Linked DNA regions of Homo sapiens: region 1 is linked to region 2. Evidence: promoter capture Hi-C in human tissues and cell types (Jung and others, 2019). All regions are on one chromosome and are shown on one strand. The core of a region is centred on a gene start or on the middle of the fragment in contact, and the rest is flanking DNA. Distances in the headings are between cores, read along the strand shown. Region 1 overlaps LOC124903780 (a long non-coding RNA gene). Region 2 holds the start of CDH5 (cadherin 5).

Evidence for each region. Contacts are between HindIII fragments. The study calls those that stand out against the background at their distance.
Region 1: a contact is called between a fragment that was not itself captured here and the fragment with the promoter of CDH5 in region 2, in 1 of the 25 tissues and cell types used here (dorsolateral prefrontal cortex).

What each region holds. Positions count from the first base shown.
Region 1 is chr16:65,273,766-65,280,783 of GRCh38, forward strand. All of the region lies in intron 2 of LOC124903780 (a long non-coding RNA gene), which reads left to right. Among named protein-coding and RNA genes, the nearest start is that of LINC02126, 100 kb to the left of the region's middle. The HindIII fragment of the contact is 4,843 bases long and covers 2,128-6,970 here.
Region 2 is chr16:66,362,952-66,369,867 of GRCh38, forward strand. It overlaps CDH5 (cadherin 5), which reads left to right and starts at 3,740. Exons shown (of 12, transcript NM_001795.5): 1 at 3,740-3,807. LOC105371318 (a long non-coding RNA gene) reads right to left here. Exons shown (of 3, transcript XR_933687.3): 3 at 1,229-1,976. RefSeq lists enhancers at 3,633-4,182, 4,993-5,699 and a silencer at 6,227-6,306. The HindIII fragment of the contact is 33,771 bases long and covers 1-6,916 here.

The DNA.
Region 1 (7,018 bases), core at 3,299-5,798, 1.1 Mb before region 2:
GTACTAGCTGGTATCCAAACAATGGTCAGTACCAAATCCTGTGAGGAAATAAAAGTTATGGAGTCATTGCACAGGCTGAGATTCAGGGAGATGATTTAAGGAAGATATACCATAAGGGCCATTGGCCCTGTGGGTATAATCCCAGGAGATTGAGTTATGGTTGTTCCATAGGCACAGGCTTCCTGGGGTGATTGTTAAAATAAAAGATGTTGACTATTTTTATAAGTCGTTCTTTATCTACTGATAGGAACCACTGGAATAACAGGATGAAGGGGTCGGGATGGAGGAACTACATTCCCCCATATGCTCTGGGGTTAGTGCAAAGCAGGTAGAAAAATAAATGAATGTGATAACCCTGGTCAGCTCCCAGACCAGGGTTGCCTATTGTGTTTATTCTGAGTTCCATGTTTTCATGAGATGTTGATAAGCTGGATGAAATACAGAGAAGGAAATTATACCTCATGAGAGGCAATGGAAGGACTTGGAGATGTTTTGACTGGATAACAAATAACTTAAGAAGAATGAGGGGCAAAATCCCTTCTCTTCAAATGCTTCAATCTTAAGGTATGTCCATCATTAAAAATTTTAAGAAAAACTTTGGCCATGTTTGAAAGTATCTGTAAATAGGTAACACAATTCCTCATGGTTTCACTATCCCAACACATGGCCTATTTCTATATTTTGCATATTGCCTCTTAGAACTTCCAGTACTTCATTCTCTATGGCTTCAAAAATGCAATCCGAGGACCAGTGATGAAAATTCCAAGGGGGCCATGTGTATTGCATTACAAATAAGAAGGTCCACATGTTCAGTGCATTACAAATAAGAGGGTCTGCATAATCAGAGCCATGTAACACTGGAGTCAGACACTATGCTGGGGATGAGCTCTTTCCTTTTGGAGTTGTTCAAGTATGAACGGAGAGGGTGTCTGTCAGTAAGGCTGCCAGGAGGCTTTCTGGTGGAGTCACTGTTTGCTCAGGATAGCTTTTACAGTGTCTTCCTACTCATAAGTGTGCACGGGTCTGTGGTTCCAGTATAGCTATCATACTTCCTTTCCTGAATCATCGTTTCAGAAAGTAAATGGCAAGAATGGAACAAACATGTTTTTCATGCCCTTTGCTTGCCAGATCTATCCTTTTGGCTCCTTTACATTATCTCTATTCTCAGGACAAACTTTATGAAACACCTATCCATTATTTTTGTATTGCAGATGGGTGTCTTAAGACAAATTTGCCCCTAAAAAGTAGGACAATGACCAAACTGATCCAAAATTCAAAAGACTCAAAACTGGAGAGTAGCTGAACTACAGAAGTCCTTACCACGGACAAGAGCCAGTGAGGCTTCAGAGACTTCAGCATCAAGAGTTGCTGGATGTTTACATGTCTATCCCCCATCAGTAAGACTCAACTACCACAACTCTTGAGATGCCTCCTTCTGCAAATTATTTTTCAGAAGAATCTTATTGGTTTAGTTCAGCCAGTGGACCAGTTTTCATGTGTGTCCGTGTGAAGAGACCACCAAACAGGCTTTGTGTGAGCAACATGGCTGTTTATTTCACCTGGGTGCAGGCGGGCTGAGTCCGAAAGGAGAGTCAGCAAAGGGAGATAGGGGTGGGGCCGTTTTATAGGATTTGGGAAGGTAATGGAAAATTACAGTCAAAGGGGGTTGTTCTCTGGTGGGCAGGGGCGGGGGTCACAAGGTGCTCAGTGGGGGAGCTTCTGAGCCAGGAGTAGGAAATTCACAGGGTTAATCACTCAGTTAAGGTGGGGCAGGAACAAATCATAATGGTGGAATGTCATCAGTTAAGGCGGGGCAGGGCCTTTTCACTTCTTTTGTGATTCTTCAGTTACTTCAGCCCGTCTGGGCATATACCTGCAAGTCACAGGGGATGCGATGGCTTGGCTTGGGCTCAGAGGCCTGACATTCCTGCCTTCTTATATTAATAAGAAAAATAAAACAAAATAGTGTTGAAGTGTTGGGGCGGCGAAAATTTTTGGGGGTGGTATGGAGAGAGAATGGGCGATGTTTCTCAGGGCTGCTTCAAGCGGGATTAGGGGTGGCGTGGGAACCTAGAGTGGGAGAGATTAAGCTGAAGGGAGGTCTTGTGGTAAGGGGTGATACTGTGGGGTTGTTAGAAGAAACATTTGTCATATAGAATGATTGGTGATGGCCTGGATACGGTTTTGTATGAATTGAAAAACGAAATGGAATAAGAGAAGGAGAAAAACAGGTATAAAAGGTCTAAGAATTGGGAGGACCCAGGACATCTGATTAGAGAGTGCCTCAGGAGATTCAGCATAGTCCTGCCAGCAAAGATTATTTATTTACTTCAAGAGTTTAGAGTGGCAGTTTGGGGATAGCACCAGGAGATATCAGCTGTGATGGCTTGGAGAAACAGTGTAAACCGGCAGTGTAAACAAGAGCAGGGCACGTATGAGTAGTTGAGAACGATGAATAGGAGTATGACTAGACAAAAGATAGTAGGGATGACAAGTTTTTTTGGGGGCACAGTCTAAGTTGCTCTGGTGTCGAATGAGACTGGGGCCTAATAAAAAGGAGCGTCTATACAGGAGCTTAAATGGGCTCCTGTACACCTTGTAGCATTCTGAGGACAGGCCTGAATTCTGAGAAGCAAAAGTGGTAAAAGTATTGTCCAGTCCTTTTTAAGTTGGTGGCTGAGCTTGGTGAGGTCTGTTTTTAAAAGACCTTTAGTCCACTCTACTTTTCTTGAAGATGGAAGACTGTAAGGGATATAAAGGTTTCACTGAATACTAAGAGCCTGAAAAACTGCTTGGCTGATTTGACCAATAAAGGCTGGTCTGTTATCAGACTGTATAGAGGTGGGAAGGCTAAACTGAGGAATTATGTTTGACAGAAGGGAAGAAATGACTGTGGTGGCCTTCTCAGACCCTGTAGGAAAGGCCTTTACTTATTCAGTGAAAGTGTCTATTTAGACTAAGAGGTCTAATAGTTTAGTTTCCTGACTCGGGACATGTTGAGTAAAGCTAATTTGCCAGTCCTGGGTGGGGGCAAATCCTTGAGCTTGATGTGTAGGGAAGGGAGGGGTCCTGAATAATCCCTGAGAATAGCAGATGGAACACTGAGAAGTTATTTCCTTGAGGATAGATTTCCACCATGGAAAGGAAATGAGAGGTCCTAAGAGGCGGGCTAGTGGCTTGTACTATAGCATAACCTGCCTTTGCTGGTGTGTGGCGATTAGGCCTGGTGGAACTGCCACCAATAAATCAAGCGTGATCAGGGTGAGGAGCAGGAAAGAATGAAATATGGGGAAATGGGGTGAATATCAGGTGGATCAGAGAGATACAGTCATGGGGGTCACGTGTGGTATTAGGAATAATGTGGGAGGCTGGACTGAAGTCCTGGTCAGGAACAATGGTAATTGTGGGACTTAAAGAGTGAGTACAGCTGAAGGAGCCGGGGAGCAGAAAGTATATGCATCAGGTATGAGGAAGAAAATAGATTTTGGAAGTTATGAGAACTGTAGAGAGTGAGTTGAGCATAGTTTGTGATTTTTAGGGCCTCTAACAGTATTAAAGCAGTGGCAGCCGCTGCACGCAGACATGAGGGCTAGGCTAAAACAGTAAGGTCAAGTTGTTTGGACAGAAAGGCTACAGGGTGTGGTCCTGGCTCTCGTGTAAGAATTCTGACCACACTAACCATGCCTAGGAAGGAAAGGAGTTGTTCTTTTATAAGGGATTGAGGTTTGGGAGATTAATCAGACACGATCAGCAGGGAGAGCACGTGTGTTTTTATGAGAATTATGCCGAGATAGGTAACAGATGAGGATGAAATTTGGGCTTGACTGAAGTAATGGGGGCTGTCTGTGAAGCCTTGCGGCAGTACAGCCCAGGTAATTTGCTGAGCCTAATGGGTGTCAGGGTCAGTCTAAGTGAAGGCAAAGAGAGGCTGGGATGAAGGGTGCAAAGGAATAGTAAAGAAAGCATGTTTGAGATCCAGAACAGAATAATGGGTAGTAGAGGGAGGTATTCAGGATAGGAGAGGATACGGGTTTGGCACCACGGGGTGGATAGGCAAAACAATTTGGTTGATAAGGCACAGATTCTGAACTAACTTGTAAGGCTTGTCTGGTTTTAGGACAGGTAAAATGGGGGAATGGTAGGGAGAGTTTATAGGTTTTAGAAGCCCATGCTGTAGCAGGCGAGTGATAACAGGCTTTAATCCTTTTAAAGTGTGCTGCGGGATGGGATATTGGCATTGGGTGGGGTAAGGGTGATTAGGTTTTAATGGGATGTAATGGGCATGTGATCGGTTGCCAGGGAAGGAGTAGAGATGTCCCATACTTGTGGGTTAAGGTAGGGGGATATGAGAGGAAGACGCGAAGGAGGCTTTCGGTTGGGGAGAAGGGTGGCAATGAGATGTGGCTGTAGTCCAGGAATAGTCAGGGAAGCAGATAATTTAGTTAAAGTGTCTCAGCCTAATAAGGGAACTGGGCAGGTGGGGATAACTAAAAAGGAGTGCTTAAAGGAGTATTGTCTAAGTTGGCACTAAAGTTGGGGAGTTTTAAGAGGTTTAGAAGCCTGGCCGTCAATACCCACAACAGTTATGGAGGCAAGGGAAACAGGCCCTTGAAAAGAAGGTAATGTGGAGTGGGTAGCCTCCGTATTGATTAAGAAGGGGACGGGCTTACCTTCCACTGTGAGAGTTACCGGAAGCTCGGCGTTCGTGATGGTCTAGGGGGCTTCCGAGGCGATCGGGCAGTGTCAGTCTTCAGCCGCTAAGCCGAGAAGATCTGGGAAGGAGTCAGAGAGCCTTGGGCCAGAGTTCCAGGGGCTCTGGGAGTGGCTGCCAGGTGAGTTGAACAGTCCAATTTTCATTGGGGTCCCACACAGATGGGACGCGGCTTAGGAGGAATCCCGGGCTGCGGGCATTCCTTGGCCCAGTGGCCACATTTCGGGCACGTGTAGCAAGCTCCTGGGGAAGGAGGTTCTGGAGGAACGCCTGGCCGCTGCGGTTCAGGCGTTTGGAAGTTCTTGTGTGCTGGAGATGTGGCTGGGGTTTGTCTCACAGTGGAGGCAAGGAATTGTAACTTTTTTCTGTTATTGTACACCTTGAAGGTGAGGTTAATTAAGTCCTGTTGTGGGGTTTGAGGGCCAGATTCCAATTTTTGGAGTTTTATTTAATGTCGGGAGCAGATTGGGTAATAAAATGTATACTTCAGGCCATCTGGGCGTATATGTGCAAGTCACAGGGGATGCGACGGCTTGGCTTGGGCTCAAAGGCCTGACACCAGTTTGCCTTGGGTCAGGTCCAATAAACTACGATGAGGGTATGAGCTTGCAAAGTGATTCACGTGGATGCCTTGGTTTGCAACATGTGCAGGTTGTGGTGGCAGGGATAGTGGTGGAGTTTTCTTAGAAAGATATGAGTAGGAAGCAACAGTCCTTATTTCTGAGAGAGTCTTACAGTTGCCTAAGATCTCACCACTATAGATCCCAAAGTCTATGGTCAGAACAAAATCTATCTGGATGTGAAGTCCCTGATCTTGCTGACATATCTGGTAAAGGCAGCATAAGGCTGACTCTCAGAGAAGCTGGTCTCTTGTTCAAGGTCACACGTCAGTAGGAAATGCAAGAGAGTGTTGTTCACCATTGTTAACTCTGTCCAACAGTGGAACATGCTGGAGAAGAGCCCATCCAGGCATTCATTTCGATCAGTTGTATTAACAGAGTTGCAGAATTTAGCTGGGTTCCATAGTTAAACTGATGTGGATTCAGGTCCAGAATCTGCCTTTTGTCAACTGTGTGATACTAGGCCAGTTAATCAATGGATAAACAAAGTACTAGTTCTGGGAATCCAATCCCTGGATTCTAGGAACCTCAGTTAATCTGAAATGAGGATTTTCAGCAATATCCTCTTTCAAAGCCACTCCCAATCTCAAATTCTGATAAGGGTCTTATGCAGGAGTTGGCAAACAATATCCCATCAGTCAACTCCACCCATTTTTGTAAATAAAGGTTTATTTGAACACACCCACACTCATTCATTGGCATACATGGCTGCTTTTGCACTACAATGGTAGAGTTGAGGAGTTGCAACAGAAAGTGAATGACCTGGAAAGCATAAAATATTCACTGTCTGACTCTTTACAGAAAAAGTTGGCTGACTCCTGGCCCAAAGGGAATTTATTTATTTCTGCCTTCAACTCCCATGCTGTTTTGCGCAGTTCTTGCCTTTCCTTGGTATTGTTCCCCTTCCTTTTATGAAAACTTAGAGACCAATCTTTGAACATATTCTCCCTGGGATCAAATCCCAGCTCTGCCACTCACAAATGGTGTGAGCCTTGGAAAGTCCCATTAATTTCCTAAGCTTTAGTGATCTCTAGAAAATAACATTAGACAGATGTATGCCATAGTGTTTTTCTGTGACTTCAAAGGTATAGTCCATGGAAGCTGCTTAGAAAGTGTCCAGGGGATGTTAGCTACTATTACGATGACTGTTCTTTTCTTTTTTAAAAAAAGTTATTTTTATTTGCACAAATTAATGGAGTATATGTGAAATTTTCTTATATGTATATAATGCATAGTAACAAGTCAGGGAACTTAGGGTGTTCATCACCAGTGCACACTGCATTTGTCTTAACTATAGTCACCCTACTCTGCTATCAAATATTGATTTTATTTTCTTAATTAATCACTCTGGGCAAGTTTCCATCTCCATGTTTCTTAACTAAGGAGTTTGACACTTAATACCTGGTAGCTCATGGTTAATACATGGTCTGGCCCAGAGTAAACACATTATAGGAAAAAGAGATATCTATTTTAATCCTCACAACATTCCTACTTTGGTGACAATATCACTGTATTTCACACAGGAGGAAAATCAGAGTTAGGAAGGTAAGCATCTTACCCCAAATCCCAAACCCTGTGAAGATCAGAACCAGGATTCAACCCCAAGGTTAAGGCCGTCCTCTACACCACCTAGAAATGCCAAAGTTCATAAGGAAACAATAATCCAGAGAGTTACCTTTCAGCACAG
Region 2 (6,916 bases), core at 2,490-4,989:
ATCAGACCATCACCTGCCTTAGAACACAAAACACTCGACTCTCCCCCCAGTCTCTCTGACCCGGGGAGCAGCGGGCTGACTGCCGGTTCTAATGAGTGCACAGTTTCAAGTTCACATTTGGGGAGCACTCACCTATTACCAGGTGCTGGGGATAAGCACCCAAATAGGACACAATCCCGGTGGGAAAGGAGAGGAGGGTTGTGAATGAGGTCTGTATAAAGTGCCCTGGGAGCTCAGAAGAGGGAGTGGAGTGTAGAGACAATGAGATCTGGGTGGCTCTGCCAGGGCTCTGCGCACAGGCGAGGAAGGAGAGAGAAGGAAACACACAAGGTGGAACAGCATGGGCAAAGTCCTGAGGCGTGAGGCTGCAGGGCTTCACCACGACCGCCCCTGCCAAGCTGATGGCATCGTTTTCCTGCCCCATCCTTGGGTGTCTCACGCTGTGGGGAGGAAGGAAAAGGAAGTCTTATTTGGGGAACCCCTGCTGTGTCCCGACTCAATTACAGCAGGGCAGGAAAGCTCCCTGGGTAAGGAGCTGGGCTCTGGAAACAGAAGCGTGGCTCGGAATTTCCGCCCCACCACTGACAAACTCTGATCTCAGAAAGGCTTTCACTCCCAGCCTCTGTTTTCCCATCTGTAAAATGGGCCTAACAGTAGTACCACCCCCGCAGGGTTGTCCTGAGGTTTGAATGAGGAGTCCCAAGGAGAGCTTAGTGCATTAGCAGCAGACACAAAGGCTGTGGTCCTCAAATGTAACAACACAAACACGTTTCCTGGGGAGCTACAAACACATAAGTCCTGGGATTCTATCACCAGCCATTCTGACCCCATCAGCCTGGAGTGGGGCCCAAGAAATCTGCATATTCACTCCCCCTCTCCCAGGATGGATGGCTTGAAGACCACACTTTGAGAAACAGCCACTCGATAAGGCTTGCTGGTCCTGTCATTTATTTTCATTGTCTCATTTCATCTTCCAAACGGCCTGCAAAGTCTGAACAGATAACTCATTTCACAGGTGAGGAAAGAAGCTCAGAGAGGCAAGTCGGCTGCCCAGGTCATGCAGGCAGCAACGGGTCATGCTAGGATCCAAACCTGGGTCTGCAACCCCCACACCTGTACCTCCCCAAGCAGCGCTCCCTGTCGGGTCAGGCTTCCTCCTGGCAGAGGCCAGGTGGGCGTCCCCAGGCCTTGTCGTCCCACCCGCCATCCCACCCCCACTGCCTCCACTGTTGCTTCCTCCTCTGCTACTAATCTGGTCTCACAGACCATCCCATTTCCTGCTAGCCCACCAGCCGCCTTCCTTGCTCCCAATGACACTTCCTGGCCTTGTGCCCTCCTGTTACCTCCTTTGCCTCCAGAGAGGTTGGAGCAGAGGCTGGGCAGTGCCAGAAATCAGGCATGAAATCCTCAGGGGGACCAAGGAGGCACCAGCCTCCCTCCCACAGTCTCAGCTACCTCTGCTACGGTGACCCCCAGCCCCACCCCTGGGGCCCACAGCTCATGCCTGGCTCACCATTCCTTTGTTTATGGACCACAGGAACAGTCGTTTTCAGGGCAGAGTCAACTTCCTCATGGACTGGGAGTACAAAGGGAATTGGCAGATGGTGCCAGGACAGGCCCTGTCCCCATCTGCCACAGCCCCGAGTCTGAGACCCAGCAGGAAGCAATGCACAGGCCAGTGTATCCCCATGGGCACGTAGACCATGAGGACAGGCGGGGGTGAGGGGGATGTGGACTGGAACACAGGGGACAGAGCACTGTCCTGGCTCCTCTGCGGCCAACCCCCCCTCTGGGCAGGAGAAAGCAGAGTTAATCCCATTGGAGAAGGAAGCGCTGAGCTGTTGTTTGTTCATTCCACAATCGGCTGTTGAATGTGTTGGATCCCACTCAGAATTCCGCCCCAAGGACTGTTCTCCTTCCAGCAGGTCGCTCCTCAGTCTCCAGCATCATCTGTCTTCCCGTCTGCTGGATGCTCCCTGGGGACATGAGCGTGCTGCCATAGTTAAAAAAAAAAAAAAAAAAAAAAAAAAAAAACCCTCCCACTTCTCTGCTCCCATTCACTGTAAGACTTGGGGAAGAAGCTACAGTCACACGTGACTCCACATCCCCGTCCCCCTTTCTCCCCTTTCTCTAGCCCCTCCAATCTGTCTTGTCTACCTTTTCCTGTTTAACCTGTTCTGGTCACAGTCATTGATGACCTCATCTTCCAAATCCAAAGTTAAGTCTCAGCCCTCATGCTCCCCAGGCTGACCCACTGACTACTCCCCTGCCCTCCTCCTCTGCCCTCTCCTGGCATTCCTCCTTCATCATGGGACCCTCTTCTAATGGATCCCCAAATGTCAGAGGGTCCAAGTCCTCCCTCCCTCCAAGCTCATCCATGCCCATGGCCTCAGATGCCAGCCATAAGCTGTTGGGTTCCAAACCTCGACTCCAGGCTGGACTCACCCCTGTCTCCCCCACCAGCCTGACACCTCCACCTGGGTATCTAACGAGCATCTCAAACTCAACCTGCCTGAGACAGAGGAATCACTATCCCCTCCTCCTCCAAAAATATCCTTCCATCACACTCCCCATCTTGTGCTCTGATTTACTAAACGGCCCTGGGCCCTCTCTTTCTCAGGGTCTCTGCTTGCCCAGCTATATAATAAAACAAGTTTGGGACTTCCCAACCATTCACCCATGGAAAAACAGAAGCAACTCTTCAAAGGACAGATTCCCAGGATCTGCCCTGGGAGATTCCAAATCAGTTGATCTGGGGTGAGCCCAGTCCTCTGTAGTTTTTAGAAGCTCCTCCTATGTCTCTCCTGGTCAGCAGAATCTTGGCCCCTCCCTTCCCCCCAGCCTCTTGGTTCTTCTGGGCTCTGATCCAGCCTCAGCGTCACTGTCTTCCACGCCCCTCTTTGATTCTCGTTTATGTCAAAAGCCTTGTGAGGATGAGGCTGTGATTATCCCCATTTTACAGATGAGGAAACTGTGGCTCCAGGATGACACAACTGGCCAGAGGTCACATCAGAAGCAGAGCTGGGTCACTTGACTCCACCCAATATCCCTAAATGCAAACATCCCCTACAGACCGAGGCTGGCACCTTAGAGCTGGAGTCCATGCCCGCTCTGACCAGGAGAAGCCAACCTGGTCCTCCAGAGCCAAGAGCTTCTGTCCCTTTCCCATCTCCTGAAGCCTCCCTGTCACCTTTAAAGTCCATTCCCACAAAGACATCATGGGATCACCACAGAAAATCAAGCTCTGGGGCTAGGCTGACCCCAGCTAGATTTTTGGCTCTTTTATACCCCAGCTGGGTGGACAAGCACCTTAAACCCGCTGAGCCTCAGCTTCCCGGGCTATAAAATGGGGGTGATGACACCTGCCTGTAGCATTCCAAGGAGGGTTAAATGTGATGCTGCAGCCAAGGGTCCCCACAGCCAGGCTCTTTGCAGGTGCTGGGTTCAGAGTCCCAGAGCTGAGGCCGGGAGTAGGGGTTCAAGTGGGGTGCCCCAGGCAGGGTCCAGTGCCAGCCCTCTGTGGAGACAGCCATCCGGGGCCGAGGCAGCCGCCCACCGCAGGGCCTGCCTATCTGCAGCCAGCCCAGCCCTCACAAAGGAACAATAACAGGAAACCATCCCAGGGGGAAGTGGGCCAGGGCCAGCTGGAAAACCTGAAGGGGAGGCAGCCAGGCCTCCCTCGCCAGCGGGGTGTGGCTCCCCTCCAAAGACGGTCGGCTGACAGGCTCCACAGAGCTCCACTCACGCTCAGCCCTGGACGGACAGGCAGTCCAACGGAACAGAAACATCCCTCAGCCCACAGGCACGGTGAGTGGGGGCTCCCACACTCCCCTCCACCCCAAACCCGCCACCCTGCGCCCAAGATGGGAGGGTCCTCAGCTTCCCCATCTGTAGAATGGGCATCGTCCCACTCCCATGACAGAGAGGCTCCTCGAGGGCACGCTGGGCCTCCTCGTGGCTCAGAGCAGGGTCGGGGAAGGTGCACCCAGAGGTAGTGCCAAGGGCACAAATGGGCATCTCGGGGCTGAGGGGGGCAGGGCAAGGGCTTGGCTCTCCCAGAAGTGTATTCTCCAACTCAAAAAGGCCCACTGGCCTTCATCAGTGCCAGGCTCAGAGAGGGCAGTATTCTGCCCCAGTTGCCCAGCATGCCGGGGCAGAGGACTGGCACCCAGGCCTTGGCCTCCCCTCGGTGCCTTACCCTTACTGGAGAGGATTTACCAAGGCCTGACACCAGCCTCCTCAGCCCCCTACCCATACGCCACTAAAGCTCTATGCTGGGATCTGGGGAGGGGCCCTGAAAAGGAAGCTCCGAGCCTTGGCCCCTCTCGGTCAGCCAGTGCCCCCATTTCAGGATAGGCAAGCTGAGGCTTGGCTCTGGGCACTTGAGGTCTTGCCTTTCCCTCTGGGCCTTTCCCTGCCCAAACACCATCGGGGCCCACTATGTGTCAAGGGAGCTGTAGTCTGGACAGCGGTCCACCATTCCTCCCACCAGCACCCTTTCAAAGGCTAGAGCATAAGAGCCCCAAGGCCCCCACAGCCCAGGAAGTCCCCCAGAAGCAGGAGGTCTGGGCCAAGAGCCTGGCCTGGAGACAGCTGCCCTGGGTACAGATCCCAGCTCTCCCATTTGCTCTGGGGTGACCTTGGGAAAGTTACCCAGAGTTTCCAAACCACAGTGGGGAACAAGGGATGGTGTGGGGCTCATTATTTTACCATTAACAACTCCACAAGGTAGATACATTCTTTCTTTATATCTCAGTGAAAGCAACTGAGCTTTGGAAACATATGAGCTGGTGTGGGGATTTGAACCAGGATCTCGTACTCCAAAGCCCCAGCTCTCCCCAGGTCTCAAGTGTCTCATCTGTGAAATGGGGAAACAGTGTTTCCTCAGTCAATTGAGTGAAGTGAGCTACATCCCTGGTGCTGGGAATGGCACATAACATGAGATCTTTAAGGAATAGTGGCTGGATTTACCAGCTAGCACAGAGCCGATCCTGGTTGTGAATGTGATAAAGATTTTGGCCCTTGAGGTATGGTCAAACCCCATCACGGAGGGGTCCTCAGGTGCCCAGCAGGTACGAGGAAGGGGGTGCAAGTGAGAGGACATCGCGAGCACCTCTGGGCCTCTGCTCCATGTCAGGCTCCCTCCCCAGCGTGGACGTTTCTCATGTGTGATGGGCAGATAGGATTCTGACAAGAGAGGAAGGGCATTCCCAGGGAGGCAGCTTTGAGGAGTCGAGGGTGTACCTGGAAGGCTCTTTTGCCACAGGCCACTGGAGCCAGGGCCAGAAGCCCTGGTCCATCCTCAGGTGGTGGGAAGCCTGGGACTCTCCTCTGCCTGCCCTAGAGAGCAGCAGGTATCCACCAAGGGGCCCAAGAGCTGCTGAGCCCCTGAGCAGCCCTACCAATTTCAGCTTATGGTGGTGAGGGGTAGGGGAGGTGTATACTGGCCTGGAAGGGGTTAAGCTGCCCGCCTGCAGCCTCAGCCTGAGCTATTGTGTTGCCAAACAAGGGCCGGACATGAGGGCAGGAAGCCAGCAGGGGCCACACATTTTCTGCAAAGTTGGATGATTCACTGCTGACTTGGGGACACCCAGGGGACAGAGGGGACACCATCCCAGGAAGAATCTTAGGCTCATTTTGCCCACATGGACCCATGACTGTTCCCTGTATCCTCTCTCTGCACCCCCTCAGTCACACTGAAGCAACTATGAGAATTCCCATTTGACAGATGGGACCATCGAGGCTGAGGGAAGCTGTGCAGCCAGTCCAAGGTCACACAACCAACACAAGGTAGAAGCAGGGTGAGTGCGGTTCCTTCTGACCCACAGTCCATGCCACACTCCACAGTGAAGCTCAGAGAGGGGGAAAGCAGAGCAGTCCAGGCCACAGAGGCAGGCACAGGGACAAGCCAGGAGCCCAGTGATACCAGGGGAAGGAATGTTCTAGGAGGCAGGGCCTCAGGAGCTTCACCTCTGGCTGAGGAGATACTAAAAAGTCTGTCCTGATCCAGGTTCAAGCTGGTGTTAAGTGGGTAAATCATGGAGGGCTTGCTGGAGGAAGAGTGGGAATCCCAGATGCTAGGAGGCCTTGGGCAGCCCCTCTGCAGCCTGCACCTCAGTCTTCCCATCTCTTGAGAGTAGGGGATGGTCCCTAAACTAATTCAGGGATTTCCAGGTTGTCTGCCTTGGACCATAGCAAAACAGTCAGATCCTGGCAGGTCCAGATACTAGAAGGAGGAGGAAGTGGGACCCAGGGGCAGGCCGGGCTGGTGGTGAATGAGATTTCCTTCTGCAGAGGAACAGAAAGAGTAGGAGGTGGGCCCAGAGTAGAGCCAGGAAATGAGGTCAAGCGTAAGTTGGCCAGTCAAAGCCACACCCACCAGGCTGGAGAGGGCGGGTAGATAGGAGTCAAGACACCTGCACCCTTACTGAGCACCTACTGTGTGCCAGGCTTTGCACCCATGATCTCATTTAATCCTCCTGCCCAGGGAGGCAGCTATTGTTGCCTCCATTACAGATAAGGAAGCTGAGGCTCAGCAAGCAAGAGATGAACCCAAGGTCACACAGCTCCCGAGCAGCTGGGCAGGTTCAAATAGGCAGGTGCAAGGGCCTCATTCTGTTCCCCGCACTGCCCTGACAGTCCCAGACAAAGTCAGGAAGCCCAGAGGAGTCTGGAAGCCTCCTTAGCATGGGTGTTCTCTCCTTGAAGTTTGGAGCTGTCCCTTTAGAAGGCAAGGGGATAGACTAGATGACCCGGAGCCCAGAGATTCCAGCACAAATTTGTTTCACATCACAAAATAGGTCTGGCCAGTTGGTACCCTCTACCTTCATTCAGTGGGAATGAACTTGAACTCAGCCCCTGAATCCTCAATACAGTCTATGAGGATCCTCAATACAGTCTTTGAGTGATTGATTCG